Linked DNA regions of Homo sapiens: region 1 is linked to region 2. Evidence: promoter capture Hi-C in 16 types of primary human blood cells and fetal thymus (Javierre and others, 2016). All regions are on one chromosome and are shown on one strand. The core of a region is centred on a gene start or on the middle of the fragment in contact, and the rest is flanking DNA. Distances in the headings are between cores, read along the strand shown.

Evidence for each region. The method cuts DNA at HindIII sites, captures the fragments that hold promoters and counts their contacts. A CHiCAGO score of 5 or more calls a contact.
Region 1: a fragment that was not itself captured here is called in contact with the fragment with the promoter of P3H2 in region 2 in 3 of 17 cell types (endothelial precursors, megakaryocytes and erythroblasts); the score reaches 13.9 in endothelial precursors.

Annotation. Positions count from the first base shown.
Region 1 is chr3:189,962,031-189,968,513 of GRCh38, forward strand. P3H2 (prolyl 3-hydroxylase 2) reads right to left here. Exons shown (of 15, transcript NM_018192.4): 14 at 1,928-2,068. Among named protein-coding and RNA genes, the nearest start is that of MIR944, 140 kb to the left of the region's middle. The HindIII fragment of the contact is 1,030 bases long and covers 4,528-5,557 here.
Region 2 is chr3:190,118,405-190,124,261 of GRCh38, forward strand. It overlaps P3H2 (prolyl 3-hydroxylase 2), which reads right to left and starts at 2,493. Exons shown (of 15, transcript NM_018192.4): 1 at 1,848-2,493. The coding sequence starts at 2,327. P3H2-AS1 (P3H2 antisense RNA 1) reads left to right here and starts at 2,560. Exons shown (of 4, transcript NR_126419.1): 1 at 2,560-2,685. RefSeq lists silencers at 1,970-2,049, 2,260-2,489, 2,436-2,730 and an enhancer at 2,700-2,879. The HindIII fragment of the contact is 2,204 bases long and covers 889-3,092 here.

The DNA.
Region 1 (6,483 bases), core at 3,793-6,292, 150 kb before region 2:
TTTGGAGATGGAAAATACCAGGATATAAAGTAATGATAGGGGAAGGCAATTGTTTGCTGCTCCCTTGAGGTTTTCAGGACTCTGTGCTCTGGTCCTTTTGTCAGGGCCTTTCTTTCTTTTTCTTCTTCTTCTTTTTTTTTTTTTTTTTTTTTTTTAAGACAGAGTCTCACTCTTGTCGCCCAGGTTACAGTGTGGTGGAGTGATCTCAGCTCACTGCAACTGCAGCCTCCACCTCCTGGGTTCAAGCGATTCCCCTGCCTCAGGCTCCCGAGCAGCTGGGATTACAGGTGCGTGCCACCACGCCAGGCTAATTTTTGTATTTTTAGTAGAGATGGGGTTTCACCATGTTGGCCAGGCTGGTCTCCAACTCCTGACCTCAGGTGATCCACCCACCTAGGCCTCCAAAAGTGCAGGGATTATAGGCGTGAGCCACCACGCCCAGCCAGGGCCATTTTTTCTATGCCTGGCTATCGTCTTTGCTTCTAGGTCTGAGCTTATAGAAGTCTTCCTTGATTCCCTGCTACAAAACATATACTGTTCTCTTCTTACAGCGTATTTACTAGCTGTTCTGTCCAAGCTCCTCATAGTCCAGGACCTTGTTCTGTTCACCCTTCTACCCCTAGGGCCTATCTAGCAGAGTTTCCAAGGCAGATAATAATAGCTCTTCTGTACAATAAAAGGTCACAATAGGTCTTTTGTAAAATATGTGAAAGAATGGCTTAGGGAATGTGGGGAAACACTTTGTAAGTTAGATTTGATGGTGAAAAGTATATGAGAAAAACGCATTATTTTTAAATAGTTTCTGATGAAATTGGATTCAACTTAGGAACCTAACAAGGAAAACTGGATAGAATGCCAGTTTTAAGAATAGAATTTCATAGCTTCATCAATACTTAGGGCTGGAGAAGATTTGGAGGTCATCCAGTTAAGCCTCTGCTACGATGTTTTAGATTCCATTTCAGCGTTCCATGCTAAGCAGTTGCCTGGGCTTTGATTGGAGCCATCCAATCAGTGCTTCCAAAGCAGACAATTCTGCCAAACTGTGGTGACTATTTGAAAGTTATTCCTTGTGTGGAGCCCAAATTTTCCCTCCAGGGCTTCTACCCATTGGTCTTAATTCATACCGCTGCAGCTCCACAGGTGGAGACTATGACATCTGCCCACGGGCTTCCAAAACGATGAGATCATGGTCTCCTCCTAGCTAAGTGTCCTCAGCTAGTTTGCATATAATAATATTGAAATACTTAATGTAATAACAGTAATAAGTAATAATAATCTTTTAGGTTTCCTTGCCCTCTTTCAAATACGTTTCATAAATGATTCAATACTATTTCTTATGATTTGCGAGAAAACAAATCCGTCTTCTGGGTGACCAATAAAAAGTGATTCCTCCCTGATGCCACAGAGTTGTTTTGGTTTTTGTTTTTGTTTTGAGACAGAGTCTTGCCCTGTTGCCCAGGCTGAAGTGCAGTGGTGCGATCTCGGCTTACTGCAATTTACGCCTCCCAGGTTCAAGCGATTCTCCTGCCTCAGCTTCCCGAGTAACTGGAACTACAGGCGCATGCCACCACATCCAGCTAATTTTGTATTTTTAGTAGAGATGGGGTTTCAGCATGTTGATCAGGCTGGTCTCGAACTCCCGACCTCAAGTGATCTGCCCACCTCGGCCTCCCAAAGTTCTGGGGTTATAGGAGTGAGCCACCACGCCCAGCCTTACAATTTGTTAATAAGCTCAAGACAGATTAGTGACTATCAAATATCATTGACACAGCTATTTCTACAAACATCTTCACTTACTAGAACATATCTGATTAAGAACTGCCTTTACCCTCTTCTTTTCCTCAGACGAAGCAATTTAAAGGACTTCTCAGATAAAGCAGTTCATGAAGCAAGCCTAATTGGCTTTCTGGGCGGGTGAGAAACTCACCAATTCTCTATAAAGTGGGTCCAAGGTGAACCACAGAGCCACAGCACACCTCTTTCCCTTGGTGACTGCCTTCACCCCATGAGGGTTCTCTCCTCCAGATGAGAAGCTGATCATGCGCCCACATTTTGGTTTTATAGAGGCCTGAGAAAGAAAGCAAAAATTAGACTTTCAATTGTTGTATCATAAACATTTCCACAACTCCTGCTTCTCTGGCTATGAGATTATTTGAGTTAAGGCCTGAGGCGAAGAATAAAGGAATCCTGGGATTGAAGATGATGTAAATTATCTCAATTTTCTCACCCGTAAAACAAAGGTAAGGTCAAAATAATATATACCTCAGAAAATAAAAAGATGTTCAAGTAAAACGTGTAGCAAAGTCCACATACATAGTAATCATTCAATACATGCTATATATATGATAGCCTGCAAATTCAAAGAAGGCAAAGTTTTCCTCTCATAATTCATTTCTGTAGCTTTTGCACTAGCAAAGCATCCGGATACAAGGTAGGTGTCCATTCCATACTTGTGTAATTAACAAACAAACAAACAGGACATCTGCAGTGCTGGAAAAGTTGTTATTGATCTAGGTAGTGGTTACATGAGCGTATACGCTTTCTAATTTTTAAATTGTACATTCATGGTTTATGTGCTTTTCACAATACAAACATTTTTAAAAGTCATAATTCTGTATGATATTTCATTTCCTTTACACTATTGTTTCCCAGTGGTCGTTTAGGCATTGTTTGAACATCTCTAGTGGTGAGAACACGACACCCCTTGGAGTGGCCTATTCGCCATCACCCTTAAGTGTTTTAAGACTGACACAGTCCTTCGCAGCTTATGCACTGCTCAGGTGGAGCTGTCCACAGCGTTTAGGTAGAAGAGTGTAGTGAGAGAAAAAGAAATACTGCTGGGCTCACTGAGCCAGGGTAGAAGATCAAACAAGCTGCCTCTTCAAATTGAATGAGCTTAAGCAACTGAATATTAGAGGCCTTGCTTCTGTGTTTAAAGAAGTGTCTCATGTGAGTAGAATCCATTTTGTCTTTCTTGGGAAATACAGAAACTTTATTCATTCCTCTGTATAGTTCAGAAAAGTAAAGTAAAACCAAAAAAAAGTGGCACTAGCCATTTTACTAGGTGAGAACATGGACTGGTTCTCACTAGCCATTTTCTGAATTGACTTGAGTTGACATATGCCCGTAAATCTTTGGTTTCCTTCTGCATAAAATGAGCTGGCTGGTTTTTCACTGCTAGCTTCAGGAAGAATATTTGAAAAATTTCCTAAAGTCCTTGGTTGCTACATAACATAGGTACTCCCGGACTACGTGACTACATATGGAAGGTAAGAGGTAGGTGGAGGAGTCGGAAAGCCAGAGAGACAGGTGGGTGCATATGTGTTTATGTGGGCATGTGTGTGTGTTTATGTCTGTGTGAGTCTGCATGTGTGTGTATATGTGACTTGTGTGTGAGTGTTAAAGGGAAGAGCAGAAAAAAAGCAGTCAGTTTCTTTTTACTCTTCTACTCACAATAACTGAAGAGTGATTTGTCTTTGCTGGAATTGCTTTTCCTAAACAGCTTTACCAAGGCAACTGTTCTGATGTAAATCTAGAGAGTTCACGAGTTAGTCGTGTCCTCAGTATCAATGTGATTCTGTTTTTCTGGAGAAGGAATTTGTACATTTCCACATAGAAGCAGCAAAATAAGTGAAAGGTAAAACCTGTGAAGTAGGATAGAAAAGACTTCTGAGGCCGGGCGTGGTGGCTCACGCCTATAATCCCAGCACTTTAGGAGGCCAAGGCAGGTGGATCACCTGAGGTCAGGAGTTTGAGACCAGCCTGGCCAACATGGTGAAACCCCGTCTCTACTAAAAATACAAAAATTAGCCAGATGTGTTGGTGGGTGCCTGTGATCCCAGCTACTCAGGAGGCTGAGGCAGGAGAATCGCTTGAACCTGGGAGACGGAAGTTGCAGTGAGCTGAGATCGTGCTACTGCACTCCAGTCTGGGTGACAGAAAAAAAAAAAAAGAAAGAAAGAAAAGAAAGAAGAGAGGGAGAGAAAGAAAGAAAAAGAGAGAGAGAAAGAAAGAAAAGAAAGAAAGAAAGAAAGAGAAAGAAGGAAAGAAAGGAAGAAAGAAAGAAAGAAAGAAAAAAGAAAGAAAGAAAGAAAAAGAAAGAAAGAAAGAAAGAAAGAAAGAAAGAAAGAAAGAAAGAAAGAAAGAAAGAAAGAAAGAAAGAAAAGCCTTCTGAGTAAATGGCCTTGGGATGTTGGAATTTCAGGTTTTCTGGGCTGCCCACTCCCTGGTGCTGGTCAGGACTCACTCAAACACGCATTTGCCAATGTTTCTATGTGATTACCAAGTCTTGGTAACATCTTATAAGACTAAAGAAAGGATGTGGGGACAAATTAGTATTTTCTTTCTTCTGGAATTGAAAGTAATTTTAAACATGAATAACTTTGGGAAAGTTTAGGAAAAGAAGCTGTGAACTGTATGAGGCGGTTGGAACTGATTATAGCCGTGGATTCACAAGGATCTCTAAGACCCATCTCATCACACAGCGAACATCATCTGTTACATGTCAGGTATTTGGAGGAATAAACAAGCTTTAGTGAACCTGCTTCCATGTGTGACATTGTTTCTACAGCAAAAATATGTTATGAAGTTTGGATAAATGATTATAAACATACTTTTGTAACACAGCCCCGTTTATACTGAATTTAATTTTTCATGAAACAAATGGAACTCATTAAATTTTATCTTCTTTGAACCTGCACAGAGAAACCAACATCCTTGAATTCCCAAGTCTCACAAACAAATGCCGCTATTGAAAAGAATCCACATATCTTCCAAGTATACTAAGCATAATTTAAAATAATCCTTTTGCTTTCCGTCTAACTGATGATTGATTTAGAAAAGCGTTTGTGCTGTAATTGTCTTTAATAAAAGTAAAATTTCAGCCACCTTTCAGATAATTACACAACTTCCAGATTTTTCCAAAGTAAAGGACTCAGAAGACGTTACTTCCTTATGTGGCCTCAAGTTATGCCATTTCTCTGCTCCATTTGTCCCTCCACAGTCAAAGGGAAACTAAAACAGAAAAATACCCATTTCTGTTGCTGTTGTTGTTGTTGCTGGTACTAGAATAAACTTCCTGTGGGGAAAGATAAGAACTGCCTTACGTAAGAATTTTAGTTATCTACGTTATTCCCTAAAATGCCACTGTATGCATTAATATGAAGTATTTGAGGAAATAAATGTTCTCAAACAGGAGCTTTTGGATTAAAAATTTGTTTAAATCAGTTTTAGTTTTTTTAGGGGAGGTTAGATTCTGGGTTTTTAAAAATAGTTATAGATTTTAATTAAAATTGTAGCACTCTGAAAGGAGAATATTATCTGCTTTCACATCTTTAAAAAGTAGAATTCCAGTTAACTTGACATTCAAAAATTAATGAAACAGGCATCCCTTGCTTTAAGCATCAAGCATTTCCAAATACGGCCACTAGATGGAGGAGAAGCAAAGAAATCTTTTCAACCACCTGTCTGACTTTCTTTGAAACTGCGAAATGCCAGTATTTTTGTACCTCAGTTTCAGTGTTAGCAGAGATCAGAAATAAAATGCTTCCTACACTCAAGCTTTCCCAGAAGTGCAAAAAACCTTCTGGACTTTAAACTCCAATACAGATCGTCAATCTTGATTTAATTTATCAGATTACGGAGTATTAAAGTACTCCCATATTAACATTTAAGCTTTTTACCCAAAAAGTGAGGCATCATGACTTTTTAACATATATTATTGTATGAAGTCACATGAAATATTTTTTCTTAGTTATTACAATGTTTCTAGACAATTTTAACGAGAATCCTCATAGGAATCACCTTTTAACCCAGTAATACATACTTTTTGATATTACCTGCTTATATCACAGTACTGTGTGATGAATAACATATGTGTGTCATAAATGACAGATATGTTTCACTAATGAGAAAAGCATGTAAGCTATGAGGGACAAGCATAAAATTCAAGAAAAGTTTAGAAATAGCTTCTATAATGCCAAAACTTTGAAGTTTATCACATACATGTCCCAACTACTTAGATTTTGTATGGTGGTGAGAGATACCTGGTCATCTATAATCTGCTTACTTTCTCAATTGGAAATTTTTTTATTATTATTATACTTTTAAGTTCTAGTGTACATGTGCAGAATGTGCAGGTTTGTTACATAGGTGTACATGTGCCATGGTGGTTTGCTGCACCCCATCAAACCATTATCTACATTAAGTATTTCTCCTAATGTTATCCCCCTGACAGGCCCTGGTGTGTGATGTTACCCTCCGTGTCCATGTGTTCTCATTGTTCAGCTCCCACTTATGAGTGAGAACATGTGGTGTTTGGTTTTCTGTTCCTGTGTTTGTTTGTTGAGAATGATGGTTTCCAGCTTCATCCATGTCCCTGAAAAGGACATGAACTCATCCTTTTTTATGGCTGCATAGTCTTCCATGGTATATATCTGCTACATTTTCTTTATCCAGTCTATCATTGATGAGCATTTGGGTTGG
Region 2 (5,857 bases), core at 1,243-3,742:
ATGATAACTTCACCGTCAGACACTCAAGGTCCCCTCTCTGCCTGGTGTTGACTGATTTCTGTAAGACCACCAGAAATTGTGTAAATCACTTAGAAGAAATTAGAGTTATACTTCATACATGCCTTAGCAATCAGGAGGCACAAGCAAGCAGAAGACAAGTCCTGGAAAGGATTCAGACTTTCTCCTCATTTCTTGCCCAAGATACTAGTCCAGTGAACTCCAACACCTTAGCCACAACACAAGGAAGTTAAGATTTATACTTAGTTGAAATTTCGTGCACTCCACCAACAGTTGCCAATCTGAGAGAACCCTACCACAGATGAGGGCAGAGATCTTGTGGGATGAGCTGCAAAAGGCATTTGGATATTTGAACATGGTATGTACTTTCATCTCCTTAGAAACACAGCCTGGTCCAGCCGTGCTCACGCCTATAATCCCAGCACTTTTGGAGGCGGAGACGGACGGGTCACCTGAGGTCAGGAGTTCGAGACCAGCCTGGCCAACATGGTGAAACCCCTTCGCTACTAAAAATACACAAACACACACAAAAATTAGCCCGGCATGGTGGTGCACACCTGTAATCCCAGCTACTCAGGAGGCTGAGGCAGGAGAATCGTTTGAGCCCGGGAGGCGGAGGTTGCAGTGAGCCCAGATTGCACCACTGCACTCCAGCCTGGGTGACAAGAGCAAAACTCCGTCAAAAAAAGAAAAGAAAAGGAAGAGAGGAGAGGAGAGGGGAGGGGAGGGGAGGGGAGGGGAGGGGAGGGGAGAGGAGAGGAGAGGAGAGGAGGGGAGAGGAGAGGAGAAAAGAAAGCAAAGCAGAGCACAGCAGAGCAGAGCAGAGCAGAGCAGCCTGGTCCATTGGCTAGCATGAACAACCAACCCCAAAGCTTCCACTTTTCCGGTAGCTGTAGAAGATACATTGATATATTAACACAGAAAACGAGAAAGAAGGGTTAAGAGTGTCAATTTGAAGGAAAATTGGGTGAGTGGCAGTGGAGGTTGAAGAACTCATTCAAATTCCCTCTGCTGAAGCATCCAGAGAGATCTTCAAAGTTATGGATGTGAACAATATGTCAATATGCATACTATACCTCCTGACGCTAACTTTAGGCAAGTTAGGCATACAAAAATAAAACTAGAAAGAGAGGACTGATGCCTAGTAACCCAGTCCAATGCATACCACCAGAAAACGTAAGCCCTCTATCAAAGGAGAAAAAGTCAACACTTAGGGTGGATACTTTGACTGAGACTGCCTCAAACAGCTTCGCCTCCTCCAAGCATACCTTCTCTTTAACCTTTGATCTTTACTTTTTTGTAGGTGAAGGGGAGAAGAGAGAGAAATTTGTTTTGGAACAGGTCTTTCAACTTCACTATTTTGAAGATTCTTTTAAACTTCAGAGAAAAGGTGCAGACTACAGTATAGGAAGGATAAGAGAGAGGAGACAAAAGAAATGGGAAGTGAGAAGGGAGAAGAGAAATGGGAAGTGAGAAGGGAGAAGAGAAATGGGAAGTGAGAAGGGAGAAGATAAATTGTACTAGATTCAGCTTTGTCAATGCCTCATGAATTAGTGCTGAATGGGTACTTTAAACATCACCTTATCAGGACAGTCCTCTTTTTGAGAGAGAAGCTGGCTCTGAGAAAGAGAGAAAAAGACTTGTCCAAGTTAATCAATTGTTGCATACAGAGATAGGGCCACCAGATATCTGGATTCACAAACTGAGACACATATTTAAGGAGACCCAATTCGAAAGACTGAACAGAGATGACGGGGGCAGCAGGGAGGGCTCAAGAGAGCGTGTGAGAGCCGCAGGGGCTTTGCAGTGGAGGAGCGCTCTGTGGGTACCTTGATGTAGGCCCGCTGCAGGTAGTTGTAGGGCACTCTGCGCTGGAAGTCGCTGCGCACATCCTCGCTGACGCGGTGGCGGGATGCGGGGCCCCCGAGGCGCTGGGTCTCACAGCTGCGATAACAGCGCGCCCGCCCCAACAAGGAGCGGAAAAGGGGCAGCTCAGCGCCGGGGCCCTCGCCGGGGGGCGGGGGCGGGAGCGGGTGGCGCGCCGCGCAGTGGCGGGCACAGCGCGTGCGGATTTCCCGCAGGCGCCGGTGGCTGCGCAGCGCCGCTTCCAAGTCGCGCACCGCTCGCTCGTAGTCTCCGCTGTAGTAGGCGGCCGCGCCGCTGGCGTAGAGCAGGTCGAAGGGCTGCAGAGGCCCGGGCTCCAGCTCCAGCTCCCGGCGTGGGCTGTCCGGGGGGCCGCCCCACAGTGGCGGCGGCAGTAGCAGCGGCAGCAGCAGCAGCAGCGGCGGCGCCCAGATGCGCTCCCGCATCCTCCGCCTCAGAGAGGCGCGGGACGGTTACGCTCGAGAGGGCTTCGGGGCACCTCGCGTCCGGGTCCCCTCTCCCACCTTCCCTCGGGGAAGCGCGCCGACTCCGCCGCGATCTGGCCGCTCCGCGAGCCCCAGGTGACCGCCGGCGCTCCGCGTACTGAGAGGCGGAGGCCGTGCCTGGCCAGCCGCTCTTAAAGGGACGCCCACAGCTCACACGCTCCTCCTGCTGCCTGAGACTCCGAGAGCCGCTCTCCCAGGCTCCCCGCTGCAGCGGCGGGGCTGCCAGGGGCGGCACACTCCAGCGCCAGCCAGAGAGCTAGCGCCGCTTGAGGCCGGCCGGGGACGAGGCGCTTTACACGTGAGCTCCCTTCTGGTTGTACAAGTGGATAGTATTAGTCTTCTTTTTGGGAAATAAAGAAAATCCAGCTTAGCAAGGTTAGGGCCTTAATCATATTCTGGAATCTCTGTATGGCCTCGCAGTTTGCAGAGTGCTTCACCTTCTAAATGAAGCCTGGAGCGCCATTTCAGACTGAATCAAACCGTAGATGCCATGTGTACCTACGCAACAAATCTGCGCATTCTGCACGTGTATCCCGGAACGTAAAGTTAAAAAAAAAAAGAATAAATAAATAAATAAATAGAAAAAAAACCCATAGAGGCCCTGTAGGCCCAGATGCGGAGGTTTAAGAAGATAAGTGATTTGCCTAAATGCATAGAGCTGAGAAGTGGCAAAGGACGGACCCAACCCAGGGCCTTTAGAACCAAAGCTTACCGCTTCTTCTCTTGGGGAAGGTTTCTCCCTTACCTTTTCGTCCAACTTGGTGTGGATGTGTGTCCGGGCATTGGATCAGGGCGCTGGGCCAGGGGAAGAACAATATATAGCCTGCCTTTCCTGTGCAGCCCGTGGTTTTACAGGGCCCAGAGAACCTTTGGAGGCAGGAGGAGCTGTACTCGCATTCTGGCTCCGTCCGTTTACCAGCTGTGTGACCTTGGCAACTGAGGGCCTCAGTTTCCTCATCTCCTAAACAGCCAGACGCCTAACACGTAAAATGCTATTCAGAAAAAAATTCTTGCTGTGGGCCAGGTGCAGTGGCTCACCCCTGTAATCCCAGCACTTTGGGAGGCCAAGGCGGGTGGATCACCTGAGGTCAGGAGTTCGAGACCAGCCTGGCCACCATGGCAAAACCCCGTCTCTACTAAAAATACAAAAATTAGCTGGGCGTGGTGGCACGTGCCTGCAGACCCAGCTACTCAGGAGGCTGAGGCAGGATAATTGCTTGAACCTGGGAGGTGAAGGTTGCAGTGAGCTGAGATCATGCAGCCTGGGTGACAGAGTGAGACTCCGTCTCAAAAACAAAAAAAACAAAGAAAAAGAAAAGAGAGGAGAGGAGGGGAGGGGAGGGGACGGGAGAGGAGAGGGAAATTCTTATTCTAAGAGTTGAACAAAGAGGCAATTTAGTATATCCCTTACCTCAAGGAATTAAGCAATCTGCATCAATCTAGGAATGAGAAAGCTGACAGAAATGGTTGCCAGATTCCAAACGACTAGCTGGAGGCTTCCTGTTCCTCCCCTTCTCCTCTGTCACGAATACATTCTTAGCCAAGGTGTTCCCCTCTTTCGTGTTCCTTGGCTTCACACTCTCACAAGAATATTGGTTGGACCCTGGATCCCAGCCTGCCTCCTGGAGGCATTTCTGTGGTCTTCTAGTGCCTGTGAGAATCTCATCAGTCTTTCAGCCCCTGCAATGGTGAGCAGAGGGACAGGCAATGGGAAAAAGACTCACGCATGTATCTAGTTGCTATGATTTTTCCGAAGAAGGCTTTTATGTGGAATCACCACTACGCTGAGGGGCTTGCCAGAGATTCATGCTGATTCCTTCATTCATTTTGTTAGGTTTGACCACTCAGGCCATGAACAGCCCTGGCTGTGTAATTCCAAGAGACACTGATGAATCATGCTCTTTTTTTTTCCCACCAAACGTTACTAATTCGGCTCATATCACTGATGAAAAAGCTCCAGTTTGGAGCTGAATGTATATTGAATGCCTTGGATGGTCAGTGTTCCAGAATTAGCACATCAGTCATCTGCCCAGACTTTTTCTCTAGAGATTGTCTGTTTTCAGATAAAGATTTTGGAGTCTAGTCCAGGGTTATCAGTCCACTTGTGGAAGGTTTTGAAGCACATCAGGATAGGAACTCCTGCTGTGGGACTGAGGGCAAAGTGCCAGGATACCTTGCTACATTCTATTTGTACATTTGGTGACATTTCTACATCATTTAATATATTTCAATTAAATTAACAATTTTTGATGCCTACTCTTAAAGTAAATATTCTAGGTGAAAGAGAAGATAAGTCAGGATTCTTACCTTTGGGAAGCTCACAGTACTGTATAGGAAACAAATTTGATATATATAATGTATACAGCTATAATACAAGGTAGAATGTGGTACGTGTTAGATTAGATTGAAAGTGTTGGCCGGGCGCAGTGGCTCACACTTGTGATCCCAGCACTTTGGGAGGCCGAGGCAGGTGGATCACCTGAGCTCAGGAGTTGGAGACCAGCTTGGCCAACATGGTGAAATTCCGTCTCTACTGAAAATACAAAAATCAACTGGGCGTGGTGGCAGGCACATTTAATCCCAGCTACTCAGGAGGCTGAGGCAGGAGAATCACTTGAACCCGGGATGCAGAGGTTGCAGTCAGCCAAGATCGCGCCATTGTACTCCAGCCTGAGCCACAGAGTGAGACTCAGTCTCAAAAAACAAAAAGAAAAAAAAAAAAGAAGAAGAAAGAAAAAAGAGCTCTGGGAACACAGAGGTTACAAAGATAGCTTCTGGCTAGAAGGATCTAAAAAGACTTAGGGAAATAATTGGCATTAGCACACAGTCAATAGCCTATAGAATGCAACCACATCCTACTGATTGCCAAATTGGCCAGGTTCTTTCAAGCCTCTTGTATGTCCTACTACCTTATTTCTTATATCTTACTACAAGTAGTAAGTAAGTAATATGCCTTGTATTACTACCTTACGTACAATCTCTGCCTGACTTGAGAGAAACTATTCATTGACAACTCAAATTTGCTTGAACATTAGAATCACCTAAGAAGTGTCTGGCTTCTGCTCTGAAAGATTCTGATTTATTGGTCTGGGATATGACCTGAGCGATGGGATTTTTAGAAGTTTCCCAGGTGATTATAATACGAAGCCAAGGTTGAGAACCACAGGTCTACAGCTAATGCCACAGCCCAAAGAATAAGTCTATGAGTTGGGGTTCCAGGTGCTGTGTAGAATTCATGAGTAGGTAGGGTTTGGAGAATAGGTAGGGTTTTGTGTAATCCCCCAGATATTCCCTCCCAGGAAAGCCAATCTGATCTGCTTTTTAAGGCTGGATCAGGACAAAAAGTTCATGACCTTATGGTAATAAGAGCCATGCAGTGCCAAGAAGCTGATTCCAGGTCATGCTGTCCCAGTGGTACTTACTCAATGTTGGAACAGACAGTCATCCACGAGTCTCTTATACTCCTGAAC